Regions from separate parts of the Homo sapiens genome. Here region 2 is linked to region 1. Evidence: promoter capture Hi-C in human tissues and cell types (Jung and others, 2019). All regions are on one chromosome and are shown on one strand. Each heading gives the region's core, a stretch centred on a gene start or on the middle of the fragment in contact. The rest is flanking DNA. Distances are from core to core; before and after follow the strand shown.

Region 1 (3,365 bases), core at 754-3,253:
CATGTCTCAGCTCACTGCAACCTCCTCCTCCAGGGTTCAAGTGATTCTCCTGCTTCAGCCTCCAGAGTAGCTGGGACTACAGGTGTGTGCCACCACACCCGGCTAATTTTCGTATTTTTAGTAGAGACGGGGTTTCACCATGTTGGCCAGGCTCGTCTCGAACTCCTGACCTCAAGTGATCTGCCTGCCTTGGCCTCCCAAAGTGCTGGGATTACAGGCATGAGCCACAGTGCCTGTAATCCCAGGCACTGCACTCCAGCCTCGGTGACAGAGCGAGACTCTGTCTCAAAACAACAACAACAACAAACTATTTCATCATATATTTAAGGATCAGTTTTTTAAGCAAGTCGTCTACTCACTTTCCCTACCTTGCTCCAAAAGCATAAGCATGAATTATATGTTAAATAACACCTTCCTGAACCTTGTCAAGGAAGTCCATGAAAAATACAGATTAAGATATAGTTATAAATAAAAATAAAAATTTACAACTGCAAATCAAAAAGTAAACTATGGCTGGCTAAGCTTACTCCTAAATTCTAATTCTAAAGGAAGATTTCTCCAAACAGCAGGTGGATGAAATTTCAATGAACTCAAAGAACACTACAGAAGAGGGTAAAAACGTGTTAACTTTCTTCCTTGGGATTCCATCACGGTGACCCTGAGGGGTTACCAAGAATGAAATAATGGTTTAAAACAGAATGCTTCGAAACAGCAATGGCAGACTATTAACGAATGTATTAACTCTTTAAAACAAACAATCCAGTTATCCCTGGCCCACTTTCTTATTTTAGTCCTAGCAACTGAGTTACATAACTTGCAGAGTGAAATCAAGAAGTCCCCGCTGTTGCGTCCTCATGTCAGTGAACAGAGGGAACTCTCCTTTATTATATTTTCAAAAGGTGAAATGTATGAAATTTCTGGGTGGGGGGAGATATCAAATGTCTGTGTGCCTGTGGTTATTAATAAGTTAACTACGAAGTAACTATGGAATAAATAATGCTTAAAAAGAGGGCAAAGATTACGCTTTAGGGTAACAACAATTGGACCCTCCCCAGATAATTCTAATTCATTGAGCGCTTGCATAACTCGAAGTTGAGTAAAAATTTTTGATGAAATATCTCGAGTACGAGGAGTTAGTCCAATGCAAAGTACAAGTACTGCTAAAAAGGATCCGGCCCTTTCCACTACTCATATCTTAATGTCAATACATAGAGAGAGTGAAGACTGCGAGTGCCAAAAAAATGCAGAAACCTGACCTTGCCCACAAGTCGAATAGTTCTGCACCCCTCCCCCAGCTTCCCCGGGAGCCGGTTCACGCAATCCCTATTGGTCAGTCTGCTTATTCCAGCACCTGCCTGGCAGTGATAAGGGAATCTCCAGAAGACAAGAAGGTCTGAAAGGAGGCGGCCTGGGAAACTGTGAGGCCCAGAAGGACAGGGTTCGAAGAGGAAAAGGAGGAGAGAAGCTTCGGAGGGATGAGGTCGGGCGGTTAGGGCTAATAGGGACATGGCTTGGGAGGACGGCTGGGGAACAGGGAAAGGAGATCTCTGGAGGGCCCAGGTGAGGTGACAGGGTGAGGGCCGCCGGCGGCCAGCCAAAAGAGAAGAGTGAAGGGGCTGGAAGGCCTAGGAACGCGGAGAAAGGCGAGCGGAGCTGTGAGGCGCGAGAAGGGCCGGGGCTGCAAAGGTTGGGGCTGCAGGGGCGACAGGGGCGACAGGGGCTGCAGGGGCAGGGAGGGCAGGGACTCAGGGGCCGGCCAGAGGGTGCGGACTCACGTTCTCCCACCAGCAGGATCCGCACGTCTTTCTTCATGTCGGCGGCTCTCGGGGGCCGGCCTCCGCCCGCACGCACGGAGTGGACTCCTCTCACCAGGAGCACCCACCCCACGGCGCCACCTGCCAGCCTCTTCGGCCGCCGGGGCCCGCCGCGCCGCCCCCTCAGTTGCTTCCCCGCAAGAGAGCCGGGACAGCGCCAGCTCCGCCTCCTCCGGCCCAGCGGGCTGTGGCGGCGGCGGCGGCGGCGGCGGCGGCGGCGGCGGCGGCGGCGGCGGCGGGGACGACGGCACGCGGCGAGGGACACGCGCTTTCGGAACGCGAACGCGCTCTGCGCCGGAACAGCGCTCCCGCTGTCAGGCCGCCGCAGCGCAGGCCCAGGGAGCCTCGCCCACCCTCCTTTGGGCACCGCGACCCCGGAGACACTTGGGCCAGGAATTTGAATGGCGGATTCCCTGGTTTAACCCCGTTTATTTTATAGATAGGGACAGAAATTCCCTGTTCAAAGTCACATAGCTAGAGCTTGGCAGTGACTCAGAGCAGGGATCTTCTCACCAGACCATAAACTCCGGGAGGGCAGCGATCAGCTTGCATGGTTTTCAGCTGCGTCCCCACGTTATTGGATAGGGCCGTCAGAAAATGCTTGATCGAGTAGGGCGACTGGCTCCCAGGATCCGGCGCTTTCCACTCCCCAAAGCCCGTCACCCTAGTTGCTTTTGCCTCTGATGCTTATAAAATACGATTATAAGATTCGTTTTTACGCTGTGTGAACAAGACTCCTTTCTTTATAACCAAACTAAGTGACTTTTTTTCTGTCTATGTAGTTTATTTTATGGCAGGGTTTTCGGACACTCTTCTTTACTCAGGCTTACCCAGCGTAATGCTAGACACGGAGGTGGCACTCGATAATAAACTCTAGATGATTTTTCTAACATTGCCTTAATTTTCTCGTGACCCTCTCCATCTGGAGGAATTTGTTGTTACATGCTTAATGTTTGGTACACAATGGCAAATATATATATATACATACGCGTGCGAATATATATCACATCCCTAATACTTGGCACACAGTGGGAAATATAAAATACATAAATTAATGAGGAAGCACTATCTGTGCATAATGTACATTTTTTCTATCTTAAATATTACACAATAAACACTTAAAGGGAATGAAATGTGCGTAATACCAACTTCCCTTTCTCCTAGGAGAAGTCATGTGGTCTCTTGCAGCAGTTAAGAGTTGCTGGCAAATTTCCTGGGTTTGAATCTAGGCTCCACATAATAGCTCTGTGATCTCGACTAAGTGCTTTTATTTTTACTTCCCTCAGCCACTGTTCCTTCTTCTGTAGCATGGAAATAATGATGATAATACCTTCCTCTTGAGATGGTTGTGAGTAATAAATACTATAATACTTGTCAAGCATTTGGTACAGTGCCAGACTCAGAGCGTGTGCTCTACTGATCTCAGCTATCATTATTATATTAAAAAGTCACTAAAAAGTTGTAATCCACAGATTTTTTGTTTTGTTTTGGTTTTGTTTTGAGACGGAGTCTCGCTCTGTCGCCCAGGCTGGAGTGCAGTGGCGCAATCTC
Region 2 (3,769 bases), core at 423-2,922, 260 kb after region 1:
ATTAAAAGATTTAGAATGTTAGAGCTGAGAAGAAACTTTGCTATTGTCTGTTATTGTGGTTTCCAGCTTAGAACTTTTTTCTCAGACGGAGTGTTGCTCCTTGTCGCCCAGGCTGGAGTGCACTGGCACGATCTTGGCTCACTGCAACCTCCGCCTCCCGGGTTCAAGTGATTCTCCTGCCACAGCCTCCGAAGTAGCTGGGATTACAGGTGCCCGCCACCACTCCCGGCTAATTTTTGTATTTCTAGTAGAGATGGGGTTTTGCCATGTTGGCCAGGCTGGTCATGAACTCCTGATCTCAAGTGATCCGCCTGCCTCGGCTTCCCAAAGTGCTAGGATTATAGGCATGAGTCACCACGCCAGGCCAGGACTTTTTTATTCAAATAAAATGTTACAGAGAAGCGCAAACAAGACATGTAAAATCTGACCTGTTTTGGTCCAAATGGAGAGTGAGGCCTTAAGCCATGTGATCTTGCCACCACTCTTGGAGCCTCAGAGAACACAGTTGGAAGGTCAGTGATCTTGTTCAAGCTGCACACTTTACAAGTGAGGGAACTGGCCCGGAGAGAGAGACATGATTTACCAGTGGTCATATGGCACAGGTAGTCTAGGATTGTTAATTTTCGTCCTAGTGCTTTTCCTCCTTGTACTACCTGTTAAGTTACGTTTGATATAACACTCTTTAGGAGAATCCTGATTATTCTGAAGAAATCCTTAAGGGCGAGTTGGCATGGATCATCTACAAAAATTCTGTAAGCATAATTAAAGGTAGGTATCTTTTGAACATTATTTTTGGTAGGAAAGTGAAACATTCTTTTCTTAATGAAGATCTTTAGCTAGTTTTGAAATTTTCCATTAGAATGTGTATAAAACTCTGTAGGAATAGTGTCCTGTTTCTTTCAGAAAATACTTATTTTTCCTAGGCTATAATTGAACATTTCAGTAACTTATTTATTTTTTGAGATGGAGTCTTGATCTGTTGCCCAGGCTGGAGTGCATTGGCGTGATCTCGGCTCACCACAACCTCTGCTTCCTGGGTTCAAGTGATTCTCCTGCCTCAGCCTCCCAAGTAGCTGGGACTATAGGTGTGTGCCACCCTGCCCAGCTAATTTTTGTATTTTTAGTAGAGACGTAGTTTCACTATGTTGGCTAGGCTGGTCTCGTACTCCTGACCTTGTGACCTGCCCGCCTTGGCCTCCCAAAGTGTTGGGATTACAGGCGTGAGCCACCATGCCTGGCATAAGTCTCTTTTTAAAATTTATATTCTACTCCCATTTTTTTCCCTTAAATTTTAATAGGTTTGGGCCGGGTATGGTGGCTCATGCCTGTAATCCCAGCACTTTGGGAGGCCAAGGCAGGTGGATCACCTGAGGTCAGGAGTTTGCGACCAGCCTGGCCCACATGGTGAAACCCCATTTCTACTAAAAATACAAAAATTAGCTGGGTGTGGTGGTGGGCGCCTGTAATCCCAGCTACTTGGGAGGCCGAGGCAGGAGAATTGCTTGAACCCGGGAGGTGGAGGTTGCAGTGAGCTGAGAGCGCCTGGGCAACAGAGCGAGACTTCATCTCAAAAAAATAAAAATGTCAATAGGTTTTTGGGGAACAGGTTTAGTGGTGATGTCTGAGATTTTGGTGCACCCATCAACGAGCAGTGTATACTGTACCCAGCGTGTACTCATTTATCCTTCCATGTTTTTTTTTTGAGACAGGGTCTTACTCTGTCACCCACGCAGGAGTGCAGTGGTACAATTATGGCTCACTGTAGCCTCGACTTCATGGGCTCAGGTGATTCTCCCATTTCAGCCTCCTGAGTAGCTGGGCATGGACCTCTATGCCTGGCTAGTTTTTGTACTTGTAGTAGAGATGAGGTTTCACCATGTTGTCCGGGCTAGTCTTGAACTCCTGAGCTCAAGTGATCCTCCTGCCTTGGCCTCCCAAAGTGATGGCATAACTGGTGTGAGCCATTGCACCAATCCTCAGTAAGTTCTCATGGAGTAATTAAATCGTGGGGAGTTGAAAATTAGTTCTTTTTTTATGAATACTCCAAAGATTAACAATAGCTTTGCTTGAGTAGGGGGACACTGGGGTGAGGGGACTATGGGATGACTTTTCTTCTATTTTATTCTATTTCTCATTTCAAAAAACAAGAAGATTAACTCCAGTACATGAAAAGAATGCTACTTTTAAAGTAAAGTGATTCTTATTGGCAATAAACTTCCCCTCCCCTGCTTTTTAAATTTAGGTGCAGAATTTCACGTGTCACTGCTTTCGATTGCACAGCTATTTGACTTTGCCAAAGATCTACAAAAAGAGATTTATGATGAGTAAGTAAAGTTAGTAGAAAGGTGAATATATCTATTTCTGATCTTGAGATTAAGGGTTTGAGGTTGGATATTTAGTAGAAGAGAAAGAAGATACCACACTAAATCCCTGGAATAAAAGCTAATATTGGCCGGGTGCAGTGGCTCACACCTGTAATCCCAGCACTTTGGGAGACTGAGGTGGGTGGATCACCAGAGGTCAGGAGTTTGAGACCAGCTTGACCAACATGGTGAAACCCCGTCTCTACTAAAAATACAAAATTAGTTGGGCGTGGTAGTGCATGCCTGTAATCCCAGCTACTTGGGAGGCTGAGCCAGGAGACTCGCTTGAACCTGGGAGGCGGAGGTTGCAGTGAGCCAAGATCCCACAATTGCACTCCAGCCTGGGTGACAAGCAAAACTCCATCTCAAAAAAAAAAAAAAATTAATATCATATTACGTTAAAAAAAAATTTCCTGGCCCAGTGTAGTAGCTCACACTTTGGGATCCCAGTACTTTGGGAGGCCAAGGCAGGTGGATCCCTTGAGCTCAGGGGTTTGAGACCACCCTAGGCAACACGGTGAAACCCTGTCTCTACAAAAAATAAGCTAGGTGTGGTGGTGCATGCCTGTGGTCCTACCTACTCTGGAGGCTGAGGTGGGAAGATCACCTGAGTCTGGGAGGTTGAGGCTGGAGTGAACTGTGATCCTGCCACTCCACTCCTGTCTGGGTCACAGAGTGAGACCGTGTCTCAGAAAAAAAGTATCTTCCTGATTGAGTTCTTTGATTCACTTACTGGGGGAAATAGTTTATTCAATAAAAAAAAAAAATCTAGCCAGGCACGGTGGCTTAAGCCTGTAATCCCGGCACTTTGGGAGGCCGAGATGCATGGATCACCTGAGGTCGAGAGTTTGAGACCAGCCTGACCAACATGGAGAAACCACGTTTCTACTAAAAATACAAAATTAGTCGGGCGTGGTGGCGCATACCTGTAATCCCAGCTACTCGGGAGGCTGAGGCAGGAGAATCACTTGAAGCCGGGAGGTGGAGGTTGCAGTGAGCCAAGATTGTGCCATTGCACTCCAGCCTGGGAAACAAGAGCAAAATTCCATCTCAAAAAAAAAAAAAAAATCTAAAGCTTATATAAAATTCTAAATTCTATTTTCCTGGCATTTATCCATAAAATGAGAGTTATACTCATATGTTTATAGTTGAGTGCTGGTAATTTTATTCTTTTTATTTCTTTATTATATTTTTATTTATTTATGTTTTTAATTATAGAGATGAGGTCTCACTATGTTGCCCAGGTTGATCTTGAATTCCTGAGCTCAAGTGATCCTCCTGCCTTAGCCTCCCAAAGTGCAAGGATTACAGGTGTGAGCCATTACACCTGGCTGGTAATTTTATTCTTTAATGTCTGATTATATGGTTTAACAATTATTTGTAAGCTTCGGCAACATGGCGAGACC

The links. Contacts are between HindIII fragments. The study calls those that stand out against the background at their distance.
Region 2: a contact is called between a fragment that was not itself captured here and the fragment with the promoter of RHOT1 in region 1, in 1 of the 25 tissues and cell types used here (lymphoblastoid cells).

The regions. Positions count from the first base shown.
Region 1 is chr17:32,141,140-32,144,504 of GRCh38, reverse strand. RHOT1 (ras homolog family member T1) reads right to left here and starts at 2,003. Exons shown (of 20, transcript NM_001033566.3): 1 at 1,776-2,003. The coding sequence starts at 1,812. LOC105371730 (a long non-coding RNA gene) reads left to right here and starts at 1,370. Exons shown (of 2, transcript NR_136413.1): 1 at 1,370-1,480; 2 at 1,792-3,279. RefSeq lists silencers at 1,723-1,782, 1,813-2,042 and an enhancer at 2,503-2,672. The HindIII fragment of the contact is 2,047 bases long and covers 995-3,041 here.
Region 2 is chr17:31,882,979-31,886,747 of GRCh38, reverse strand. UTP6 (UTP6 small subunit processome component) reads left to right here. Exons shown (of 19, transcript NM_018428.3): 9 at 687-768; 10 at 2,243-2,324. Among named protein-coding and RNA genes, the nearest start is that of UTP6, 17 kb to the left of the region's middle. The HindIII fragment of the contact is 3,843 bases long and covers 1-3,593 here.